3 separate regions of the Homo sapiens genome follow, and all the other regions are linked to region 2. Evidence: promoter capture Hi-C in 16 types of primary human blood cells and fetal thymus (Javierre and others, 2016). All regions are on one chromosome and are shown on one strand. Each heading gives the region's core, a stretch centred on a gene start or on the middle of the fragment in contact. The rest is flanking DNA. Distances are from core to core; before and after follow the strand shown.

What was found. The method cuts DNA at HindIII sites, captures the fragments that hold promoters and counts their contacts. A CHiCAGO score of 5 or more calls a contact.
Region 1: a fragment that was not itself captured here is called in contact with the fragment with the promoter of CDK14 in region 2 in 2 of 17 cell types (total B cells and naive B cells); the score reaches 7.2 in total B cells.
Region 3: a contact is called between a fragment that was not itself captured here and the fragment with the promoter of CDK14 in region 2, in 4 of 17 cell types (M1 macrophages, M2 macrophages, monocytes and 1 more). The highest score is 10.6, in M1 macrophages.

The regions. Positions count from the first base shown.
Region 1 is chr7:90,747,340-90,751,293 of GRCh38, reverse strand. It overlaps CDK14 (cyclin dependent kinase 14), which reads right to left. Exons shown (of 15, transcript NM_001287135.2): 4 at 3,519-3,613. Among named protein-coding and RNA genes, the nearest start is that of CDK14, 150 kb to the right of the region's middle. RefSeq lists an enhancer at 1,491-1,550. The HindIII fragment of the contact is 1,947 bases long and covers 857-2,803 here.
Region 2 is chr7:90,593,438-90,597,956 of GRCh38, reverse strand. It overlaps CDK14 (cyclin dependent kinase 14), which reads right to left and starts at 1,636. Exons shown (of 15, transcript NM_001287135.2): 1 at 1,239-1,636. The coding sequence starts at 1,329. RefSeq lists silencers at 999-1,048, 1,109-1,308, 1,499-1,808, 1,829-2,028. The HindIII fragment of the contact is 4,165 bases long and covers 1-2,391 here.
Region 3 is chr7:90,453,547-90,457,480 of GRCh38, reverse strand. No RefSeq gene overlaps it. Among named protein-coding and RNA genes, the nearest start is that of PTTG1IP2, 14 kb to the left of the region's middle. The HindIII fragment of the contact is 4,367 bases long and covers 1-3,934 here.

The sequences.
Region 1 (3,954 bases), core at 581-3,080, 150 kb before region 2:
TATATGTGATCTTGCTTTTTTCTTTCTAACATTTTTTCTTTAGCATTGACCTTAGACATCCTGGTGAGTAAGTCTTGGTGGTGTTCATTTTATATAGTATCTCCCAGATGTTCTCCAGATTTTTTGAATCTGGATATTCACCTCTCTAGCAAGGTTAGGGGATTTTTCTGGGATTATTCCCTCAAATATGTTTTCCAGGTTGTTTACCTTTTCTCTGTCTCACTTAGGAATGCCAATAATTTGAAGGTTTGATCACTTTACATTATCCCATATTTCTCAAAGATTTTGTTCATTTAAAAAAATATTATTTTTGTCTGGGTTAAGAAGATTGGTCTTCAAGCTCTGAAATTATTTCTTCCACTTGGTCTAAGATATTGAAGCTTTCAACTGTTTTCTTCTTTTCTTTTTTTTTCTTTTTTTTTGGAGACAGTCTCGCTCTGTTGCCCAGGCTGGAGTGCAGTGGTGTGATCTCAGCTCACTGCAACCTCCGCCTCGCAGGTTCAAGCTATTCTCATGCCTCAGCCTCTGGAGTAGCTGAGATTACAGGCATGTGCCACCACACCTAGCTAATTTTTCTGTTTTTAGTAGAGATGGGGTTTCATCATATTGGCCAGGCTGGTTTCAAACTCCTGACCTCAGATGATCCGCTCGCCTTGGCCTCCCAAAGTGCTGGGATTACAAGTGTGAGCCACCACGTCCGGCCTCAATTGTATTGAAATTCCTTAAGTGAGCTTTTCAATTCTAGAAACGCTGACTGATTTCCTTTTAAGATGTTATATCTCCTTCTTCATTTCCTGGATTGATTTAGAAGTTTCTTTGTGTAGATTTTGAATCATGTCTTGGATCTCACTAAGCTTCCTTGTAATCCATGCTTTCAATTATTTATCTGTCATTTCTGAGTTTCCATTTTGGTCAGGAATTATTGCTGGAGAGTTAGTGTGATCCTTCAGCGGTGCCAAGACATTCAGATTTTTCACAATAACAAAATTCTTTTGCTGGTTCCTTCTCATCTGGAGATGTTGGCACTATAATTTTTGTAATTATTTTTGTACAGATTGCATTTTTTCTTTTTCTTTCTCTGTAATATTATTGGTGTGTGTGTGTGTGTGTGTGTGTGTGTGTGTGTGTGTGTGTGTGTGTTTTCTTTCCCCTTCCCTTCTCCCCACTCCCTCTGTGTTGCAACTGCAGAGAATGCTGGGTAGGATCTTTTGGCTTTGCTTCTATAGCCCTATGCATTTCTATCAGCAGCTTTTACATACGGCTGTTTGGTTTGACCTACAGCCAGTAGATGGCACTTATCAGTAAGAACCTACTGCAGCCAATGTGTCTGGATATATACTTGATCCTTATTTATGGGGAGATGCTCTCTGTTGCCTTAGGCAATGGGCTGATCTGTGGAGCCCATAGTGTTCTGAGTTCCCTTCTCAGTCCTGGGGGCATGAGGCAAGATGGTCATCCCCTGATAGCAGGCACAAGCACCAGCACTGATGGAGAATCCAGTAGAAAGCCACCAAGCACCCAGAGTGTGCCTAAACATGAAGCTGGGAAACATCCTTAGCCCCAAGTCTCTGCAGAGGAAGTGGAGGCAGCCTAAACTCCTAATCCAGGAGTGTAAGTGCTCCAGATCCCTGGAGATTTGCTGGGGCATGGAGGAGAGAGGAACCTGCTACACCAGAGTTTTTGTGTAGAAAGGGTGAGGCAGCTTAAGCTGCCATTCCAGGTGAACTGGTGCTCCAAATGCCTGGAGATCTGCCTGGGTGTGGAGCAGAGGCCTAGCTGCACCATGGTCTCTGCACAGGAAGAGTGAGTGACTCAGGATGCTGAACAAAGTGAGCAGGTGCTCTAACTGCCTGGAGATCTGCCTGGATGTAAAGCAGAAAGGGCCCCTCCTGCACCTGGATGTCTGCAAAGGAAGGGTGGGGCAACTGAGGTTGCCAATCCAGATGAGGTGAGCAGGTGCTTTGAATGCTTGGAGATCTGACTGGGCATGGAGTGAAGAAGGCTCTGCTATACCAGGATCTCTGGACAGAAGGGGTGGGGCAGCTCAAGATATAGAACGAGGCAAGCGGGTGCTCCAAAGGCCTGGAGATCTGCCCGGGTGTGGAATGAAGAGGGCTCCCTGCACCATTTTTACAAACTTTTTTTTACAACTCTCAAAATTAATACTATTACTTTTGACTTCACAGTATTTTTGCCTTACATATCTTTCTTGATAAGGAATATTTCATCTTCTAAACTTAAGAAACATGAACAAACAGATATAAGACCACACTCCTGAAAATCCTAAGATTACCTAAATTAGCACATAATCAAAATTTCCAACTATGTCTTTGGAATGATCCTTCAGAGAATTTTTCTCTTCTACATCTTCTTATTTAATTACTTAAGTTACAATATTCTAATCTGGCTGGGTGCAGTGGTTCATGCCTGTAATCCCAACACTTTGGGTGGCCGAGGCCAGAGGATCACTTAAGCCCAGGAGTTTAAAACCAGCCTGGGCAATACAGGAAAATTCCGTTTCTGCAAAAGAGTTTTTTAAAAAAAATAGCCAGACATGATGGCATGGGCTTGTAGTCCCAGTTACTCAGGAGGCTAAGGCAAGAGGACTGTTTGAGCCCAGGAGGTTGAGGCTGCAATGAGCCGTTATCAAGCCACTGTACTCCAGCCTGGGCAACAGGGCGAAATGCTGTCTCAGACAAAAAAGTCCTATCTTCTATAAAGATTTTGAAAAGAGATAACAGGGACAGTATAGAAAATTATTTTGCAACATCATTTGGTAAAGTTATAAAGGTAAAACAAAGCTTGTGACTTCTGTGGTTGTTGCAGAGATTGCATTAAGTTATCTACAACTACATGTCACTAAATACAGTAACTCTCTGTCCTTAATTAATAAGGGAGAGTAAGGAGGTCAATCAGAAACACATGAGGACAAGCTTTTCAAGAATCCAAATCTGTGCCCTGACCCCCAGAGAGCAATGGAGAGAAAGAAGAAAAGGAGGAGACAGTTGTTTCTCGATATGAAAATATATGCAGCATGATGCCAAAGCAGACAGGAAGAAAGAAAAAGAAAAGTTTGCCATTTTGTTTAACTAAGAGACTTCTGAAAGATGGAGTAAAAGCTTAACTTAAAAAGACCCCAAGAATGGCCAATATATTTGGCATTGTCAAATCAATACTCCTATTCCCAACACTAAATCTCTATGAGAAATTAATCACATAATTCACCTGGAAATGAATTCTCATTAGACGGTTCCAACTCCTTTGAAAGAGAAAGCAGTGTTGTGGGGAGGCGCATTAAACAGAAAAATAAATTGAACAGTCTGAAAAACTGTTTACTAGCAGGGTACACCAATTCCAATGAGTTTTACACACTTGCCAAAAAAAAAAAAAAAAAAGGATACCGTGAGGGAGGAAAATCTATTGTATATTAAATAATAATTATTTAAATAAAATGCTATTTAGTAATAAGAGGGCAGATACACTGTACATGTGAAATATTCCAAAAATAATGAACTTACTTGCTTTTCCCTTTGTATACTGTAGCATAAGATCCTTCCCCTAGTTTTTCCAGCTTTTCATATGAGTCAGCTTTTCCAAATTTGGGACTTGTTGGCTAAAAATGAAGCACAGGGTAAACAAAACAGATTGTATCAAATTAATTAACAACAAATACCCTGATTTTGCTAAAAATGTACAGATTCTCTGTCACTTTTTAAATAACTGTTTTTTCTGGCATACATGTTTATTTTTCAAAACAACATAATAAACAGGATACAAAACTAAAAAAAAATGCAAATAAACACAATGTAGAACGAAATTATTCCCATAAGCTAACCAGGAAACCACTGTTAATATTTTGATAGCTGTTCTTCCAGTGCTATCTGTAAGCTGATGATTGCTTTCTTACATAAATGAAATTGCACTATATCTACTGTTTTTAAACCTGCCCCTCCC
Region 2 (4,519 bases), core at 387-2,886:
TCCAATACATGCAATAAATAAAACTAAAGATTGGTTTCATACCATAACTTTACAGTCATCTGGGGAAAGATTTTGCATACCAACACAAAATTTTAAGTCGAAAGACAAAAAAAAAAAAAAAAACTTGGCTAAATTTCGATCCATTGTACTCTCTCACTTGAAGAAAGTTTGCATATCTTACAATGAATGGGTGGAAGGATATCTGTAACACTCATGTGCATCCCAGGGTTTTATTTTAAGGAATTAAGTACCTTTATGTTTAATTTCCATTAACACTTTCGTTAACATGGATGACATTTAAAACAAGTGAAACAAAGACTAGGCAGCTTCCTAGGGACTCGCAGGGGTTATCTTTTGTGTCTATAGCATTCTCTTGCTCAGGGCAGTTACATGTTATTAGTGAAAGTTGTGACAGTAGGGGAGGCAGCTAACTCTTCAGGTTAAAAGGGGTTTTCTATGCCCAGTACTCAAAATCTAACAAACCCATTCCACGTGATACTGCTGTCACCCTATTACAACCTGTGACATGCATTTATTCGTCACTGTCCTAAACACTGTTGGTCAGTTGGTTTGTTGTTTGGTTTAAAGACAACAGCCCCTGAGCTCTATTAAATGGAACAAGTTCGAGAGACATTCCTAAATGTCCAGACAACTCCACAGCGCGCATTTCTCTCCAGCAGCGGGAAGATTCAGAGACCTCGAGACTGAACACCCAAATCTCGCTTTCCAGGACCCGAAGTACCGAACAATAGGTCCCAAGGTAACTGTCCCACTTCCCTTTAGGTTGGATACGTTAAACAATACCAGGGCACAGTCTAACGTTTCACCAATTTCCAAAGCTAAATTACTGACTAAACGCCCAATATCCAAGCCTGTGCGCAAAAAATAACAAGTGGCCCAAGCAGCCGCGCAGCCCCTTGCGCGGTGGGGGCCGAGGGGTCCCCTCGCCCGTCCCCCACGCGCGCGAAAGGGCGAGCACTAGTGGCGGAGGAGGGGAGAACCCATATTGTAGGCTTGAGAGAATCTACAAATGAACCCCCAGATCCTGAGGAAGAGGGGTCTCTTTCCTTTACGTCCTTGCCCTCCCCCGGGTCCCTAGCACTGTGCCCTCGATCCCCGCCTACAACGCACCCCACGCCAGCCCCGCTGGCAGCTGCATGGCTGGTGCCAGGAACGCGGCGGGGGCGCAGGCCGAGGGGAGCGGGCGCTGGGGGGGCCGGGGGCAGCGCGCTACTCACCAATGCGACTGAAACTCTCCGACAAAGTTCTCCGCAACTTCTTCATCTTGCCGATCTTCTCGGCCGGCTGCGGCTCAATGAGGTCACACATCTGGGCGACGCGGAGCCCCGACAACTTCCCCAAACTGGTCCAGGCACAGCTCAGACAACGGCGAGGGCGCGCGCCGCGGGGAAAGCGGCGCCTCCTCCTCCACCACCTCCTCGGCGGGCCGGGAAGCGACGCGCAGGTCTAGGGAGGCGAGCAGCAGGCAGGCGGAGGACGGCAGGCTCCGCTCCGGCCTGGGCCGCAGCTGGGCGGGCGGGGGCGGTTTACGTGGTGCCGGGGGCGGCCGCGCTCGCCGCCGCCGTGGTGGCCCCGCGCCGCGCCGCCGCCGCCCGGCTCATTTTCCCTCCTTTGTAACGGAGAGAAGCGCGGCCGGCAGGGGGAGTGGTGCGGCCGAAGGAGGAGGCGGGGCGGGCCGGGTACAAGGTGCGGGAGTCGCCTGGCGCCGAGTGCGCGGGGCGAGGGCGAGTGGGCCGGCGGGAGAAGTTCTCAGCCCAGAGTTGCGGGCGCAGCGCAGAAGGAGCCGCGGCGCGGAACCGCCAGCCTGACAGCTCCTGCTGCCCTCCTGCTGCCGCCGCCACGCCCCTCCCTCGACGAAGGCCCCTGGGCGCGGGATCCTAGCACGACCTCGGCTCCCCGCTCGCCTCCCGCGTCCTCCGCGGCCCTCTGTGTCTGGCTCGCGCCCCGGCGGCGCCCCCTCCCGGCCGCGCCCCTCCCGGCCGCCCCCGCGCTCCTCCCCCGCCCCGCCCGCGCGCGGGAGGATCACGAAGGGACCGGGGTGGGAGCGGGCAGCGTCTGGGGACAGCGTGTTGGGCTGTGGGGAGGTTACCGAAAGGAAACGGGCCGAGTCCAGTTGTTTGAGCGGTTTTCTCCTTCCACGAGCGTGTGTGAAAAAGCGCGGAGTTCGGTGGAGGGCAGCTGCCAGGACTGCCTCCTGGACTGGGTGCGGTAAGGCCTTAGGGATGCATTCAGATGTAGGGTGCCTTATTTTGGGCCGAGAAAGCTGTCAAGTGAAAGATCCAAGGGGAAAGGTGGGCCTGGATTTTTTTGTTGTTGTTTGCGGTGGGTTTTTTGTTTGTTTTGAGGTCAAGTGCAGAAGCAGCGGAAGCTTCAACTGTAACCCTCCAGAAGGCAGGGATCATGCTGTTTCCCTCATCCTTGTCTCTGATCTTGGTGACACATGTAGGTGATTTCTGATAGGAATACCCAGTTCTGCAGTAAATAGCAGACACAGCCCTTGGTCTTTTTCTATTAAATTCTTAGAATATATTTCTGAATTGGGAGATTTAAAGGCTAAACAGATTCCGACCTCCTTTTCCCCCACCTCAAAAACAGAACTTTAAAAAGGAGTGGGGGAGGTGTTTATAAAATCCCAGGACAAACAGTTCCAGCAGCGAACACACATCGTCTTCATTCTGAAAAAACCTGGTGCGGCGTGAGTTCCAAACGTCAGTCTCCCAGGGGAGAGAGAAGGAAGGTGGGGGAGGGCTTGATTGTGTTGATCTGAGGCCAGCAAACTCCTTATGAATAGAAACGTTAGTAATCTTGAGTCATTTGGCTGTGTAAGTAATAAGAGCTTGTGAGGGTGTGACAATGCTGTTTGGCTTGTAGGAAATTTTGGGGAGTTTATGTTTTGTTAAAAGATTTTTATCTTAAAAACTAGCCCCCTGCCTTCCTTAAATTGTGAGGTAAAACAGTGATTTGTTCCGCCCTACACTGAGCACATTGTAGGATCTTGATAGATTGCGGATGATAAAAGACAGGAAGTCAAGCTAAGTGGGGAGCAGAGGGGGGCAAGGAATTCGCCAGGAAAGACCATATGAGTTAAAACGCAAAGCTGTTGGATCCTGGCTGCCATGTCTAGATAATTACAGACAGCACCAAGGGTGGCCTCATACCGGAAAAAAGTTTGACTTTTACCACTTCCTCAGGTTAGTTAGGGAGAAAGTTTTCAGCAGTTATGAATGAAAAGACAAATGCAACCAATCAAAACACTAATGGGTTGTACGAGTCAACAAACACGAAGAAATATTAATTTAACGAACTTTCACTATTATACACCTGTGACTGTTATCCACTGTGACAATGGCTGTTTCAAATATATAATATGTTAAATATATGTTTATTTTACCTTCGCAGTATTTTTTTTTTTTTTTCCGAGACAGGGCCTGTCGCCCAGGCTGGAGTGCAGTGGCGCCATCTCGGCTGACTGCAACCTTCTCTCCTGGGCTCAAGCCATCCTCCCACCTCAGCCTCCTAAATAGCTGGGACTACGGGTGCGCACCACCACGCCTGGCTAATTTTTGTAGAAACGGGGTTTCATCATGTTACCGACGCTGGTCTCCTACTCTTGAGCTCAAGCAATCCGCCCGCCTTGACCTCCCAAAGTTCTGGGATTACAGGCGTGCACCACCACCATGCTCTTCCCCTTCCCAGTATTTCTGACTTAAAAAAAGTAGTCAGCTTCTTCTTAAATTATGGTAAAAGCATACAAAGGTATGCACCAATTTTCTTAAATGAGATCAGTGTGTACTGATGTGTGAATATGTACAGGCTAATTTGGGAGAAAAGCATGTTTAATATTTTAAACCATTTGTGGAAAAAATGTATACACATCTATGTGTTCCTATATGCATAGAATATTTCTGGAAAAAAGAACAGAAAACTGTTGATTGTATATCCAGAACAGAGAGAACTTTTCCCTTTGCAATTTATACCTTTAAGTATAGTTTGAATGTTCTAAGAATGCTTTACTTTTATAATAATAAAAATACTAATATAAACATAATGAATATTTTCCTTTTCCCTACCCCACTTCAAAACTTCAGCTCTCCCAACTCCAGAACAACTTCCTCTAGTTACAACAGTATACCTGGCAGGAGAAACACCTGTTAAGCCTGGGCCAAATAAAGCTTGGCAATTATGAGTAACCAACTTTCCATTATATGCTCATCTTGCTCCCTTTCCTGGTTATATTTTAAAAGAGCAAATTTTGCAAGAAACTGCAATGCAAAGAAGGACATTTTTAACTTGACGCTTTTAAGATATGTATACTTATTCAACTCTTTCTACTATTATTTGTTTCACATTTGCCTTCATCTTAAACAGTGTAAGTTCAGGGACCCTAAGATATGAAACACACAGTGCCTGTTGCATAGAGAATGTAAATTAATGTTTGTCAAATAAATATAGAATGGATTGCTATCTCTGAGAAGTGATGTGTTGTCCTTGGAAACAA
Region 3 (3,934 bases), core at 828-3,327, 140 kb after region 2:
CTTCTTTCATTAGGCTACAGCCTTGCTGGAATCTTTGCTGTCTCTCTGATACACCAGGCATGCTGTCACCCTAGGGCCTTTACAGTGTTTATTCCCTCTCCTGGACCACACTTTTTTCAGACAGCCCCTCGGCTACCTCTTTTACCTTCAAGTCTTTGTTCAAATGCCATCTTCTCAATGAGACCTAATCTGAATGACGTTAGAGAATATTGCAACCTGTACCTCCTCACACCAGCATCTCCAATTCCCTTGGCATGCTCTGTTGCCCTAAGGCATTGAATTGTCTCCTAAAATACTGTATAACATACTCATTATGTTATTGCTTTTTGTTTTTTTCTTTCTCCTGTCCAGTAGAATTTCAGCTCCATGAGATAGGGGTTTTTGCCTCTTTTGTTCACTGAGGTAACCTAAGCATTAGACAGTGCCTAGCACACAGTAGGTGCTCAATACATATGTTTTAGGTCAGGCACTGTGGCTCATGCCTGTAATCCCAGCACTTTGGGAGACTGAGGCAGGCGGGTCGCTTGAGTCCAGGAGTTCGAGACCAGCCTGGGCAACATGGCAAAACCCTGTCTCTACAAAAAATACATAAAAATTAGCCAGGCGTGGTGGTGGGTACCCATAGTCCCAACTGCTTGGGGGGCTGAGGAGGGAGGATTGCTTGAGCCCGGGAGGCCGAGGTTGCAGTGAGCCGAGATCACAATGCTGCACTCCAGCCTGGGTGACAGAGTGGGACCCTGTCTCAGAAAAACTAAAACTAAAACCCAACCATATGTGTCAATTGAATTTTTATCCCCAAATCATTTATCACCTTAATTCTGGTCTAATATTCCAAGTTCTTTCAGAAGTCTCTACTTGAATGTCCTTAAGACAACTCAAACTCAGTATGCCCCAAGTCAGACTCATTTTCCCCATCAAATTCGTTCTTTCCCCTGTTTTCCTAATTGGATTCATAGCATCGATAACCATCCAGTCAGCTATGGGAGACGCCACCAGGGTCATTCCGCATTTTCAGTTTTGGAACAAGTTCCTAGCCCTCTCCTAATGCTAATAAGCATTTGATATTAATACTGAGCCTTTAGCCACACATGCAAATACTATGTTTTTCATTGCTTTAGTCACTTAGTCTCTTGGGGATTACTGTCCACGGGTTTGTGTATTGGTCTGCTAGGGGTGCTATAACAAAATCCCACAGATTGGGTGGCTTTAACAACAGAAATTTATTTTTCACAAATTTACTTCTCTGGAGGCTAAAAGTCCAAGATCAAATTGCTGGCAGGGTTGGTTTCTCCTGAGGTTTCTCTCCTTGGCTCACAGAGGGCCACCTTTTTGCTGTGTCCTCACGTGGTCTTTCTTCTGTGCACATATACTCCCGTTGTCTTTTCCTCTTCCCATAAGGACACCAGTTCTATTGGGTTAGGGCCCCATTCTTGTGACTTCATTTAACCTTAATTAACTCCTCAAAGCCCTATCTCCAAATATAGCCACATTAGGGATTAGTCCATCAATAAATGAATTTTGAGAGGACAAAATTCAGTCCATAACAATTAGACACAATGCTTTTCTGTCCCTTTAAAATTATTCCTGTTTTCAAAAGTTCATTCTTTGTGCATATGCAAACTTTGTTCTTTTCTTTCTATTTTCCATCTGTTTTGAATAATCTCTATTCTTGGCTTTATCATAAACAAATGTATGCCTGCTAAAATAGCTTTTCCCAATACTCTTACTGTTTTGCATTTATCAGGTGTGGATGGAGTTAATATTTGTAAAACATTTTCTAAAAATAGAGAAAAGCAGCTAACAGAGTCAAGAACGGAACACTTCATGGCCCCAAATAACCAACTATGACTACTAATGCCATCTGTTGGCAGCAACAGAAATTGCATGTTTTTTATCTGGATAGTAGCTTTGTTCAGATCTATCACGATCTACGTGCTGAAAATTTGAAGGTAAAGAAATCCCTGTATTCTCTTCCTTTACCTTCCATATTCCTGTCTGTGACAGTAAGCAGCCCAGCAGGAAGGTTAATTGAAGAGAATTCAATGAAGGGACTAAATACAGAGGTGTGTCAAGAGTAACAATAACCAAGGACGGTGAAGCACCCAGTGACTAACAACGAAGAGAAGCTATTACCATCCCTGCAACTGAAGAGACAGAGCAGGGAATGGAAGGGCTGAAATCAGAGAGAACTGAAGGATTGCCCAAAAGAAGCTGTGGTCATAAGGTAAAGGAAACATAGTTTGGCTGAGCGAGTAGGGGGAATAAATACCCAAATCTTTCTCTTCTCCTACTATCTATTCTCCCAAAGTCAGAGGAGCAAAGAAACTCAGATAATGCAATCTGTAGGTCGACGTAGGGCAGAGAAGGATGGAGAATGAATTTGGAGGGTTAGCCAGTGTCTTGATCTGTTTTGTACTGCTATAGTGAAATACCTGAGGCTAGGTAATTTATAATGAACAGAAATTTATTTGGCTCACAGTTCTGGGGGCTAGAAAGTCCAAGGTTAAGGGCCTTCTTGCTGCATCGTCCCGTGGTAGAAGGCAGAAGGGGAAGAAAGCACACATGTGAGAGAAGAAAGGGAGCCAAACTCCTTTTTATTAGGAACCTACTCCCATGATAACTAACCGACTCCCTAGATAATGGCATTAATCCATTCATAAGGGCAGACCCCTCATGACCTAATCACCTCTTAAAGGTCCCACCTCTCAACATTGTTGCATTGGGAATTAAATTTCCAACACATAACTTTGGGGGACATGACGAAATCATAGCAGCTAGTGAATAGTTAGCATAACTTCCCTTCACAAAATGAATTGTCCTCTCTTCTATTTTATGTACAGATTGAGTTCTTAAATGTCTCATCCATGGTTGTAAGTATTCCAACACAAAAAAATGTACTTAAGAGGAACTAATAAATACATATTTTTGAATAAATAAATGAATACTCATTATTTATCTCCATGACTTAAAATTTTGCTGGAGGAAAAAATGGCAACTGTACTCTATTTTATGTTATGCCTTATGCCCAATGAATTCCATCGAAATTCAATACATTAAATTCCAATCCTGAATACAATAAATACAACAATAAAGCAAACAAGATCATTTTTCCTGATTCCTGGCTATATGTTTATATGAGAAACAAATTTAAATAATAAGAGAAAAATCCCCACAGTTTGCCTTTTAAAAATAAAATTTGAAGTATATTTTAAGAATAATAATAGCTCACTTATCTTTTCTTTCAGCGTTAAAAGTTCTTACAAAGGCTTTAAATGAAAGTGAAGAGTTATGTTTATCTTCAAAAGTAGTACTAAAGTCAACACTGAAAGCCCTTGAATGTAGTCCAACAGTTGAACTTTAATAAACAAACAGCCTGTTGAAGGCAGGCAGATTAAAAGTCTCCAGTATACTACAGTTTAATTAGCAAGTACTGTTACAGCCAGGGTCTATACCTCCTTCCCCCAGACACAGAGAAATTATGTTTATGATGACTGGTGTTCCTTTGTTCTGACCATTATAACTGTCAATCACTAAACTGTGGAAGTTGTCTGATATGACATTTAAGACAAACATACAAGTATACTCATCAACTGCAGTCTAATTACTACAGTTGGCTTAATGACAGGGTTGCATCAATTTTTTAGTAGTACTATCAGTCTTGAAATCCTAAAGCAGATAGTCTAGCAGATCTCCAAATGTCATATTCTCTTGTATATTTCCAACTTGGGGAAAGAGAGCATGATGACTCAAGATTGTTTCCTTGGTATTTTGTTGTTATGGAAAAAGGAGCATTTATAATCTATTAGACATTTTTGAGGGCACAAATAACATGAAAATGATATTTCAGTGAAAAATGTACATTTTGCTTGGTTATTATTGCTAAGTGCATTGTTCAGCAAATGTTCTGCTGTATTGAGTTTCAGGCATCACTTGA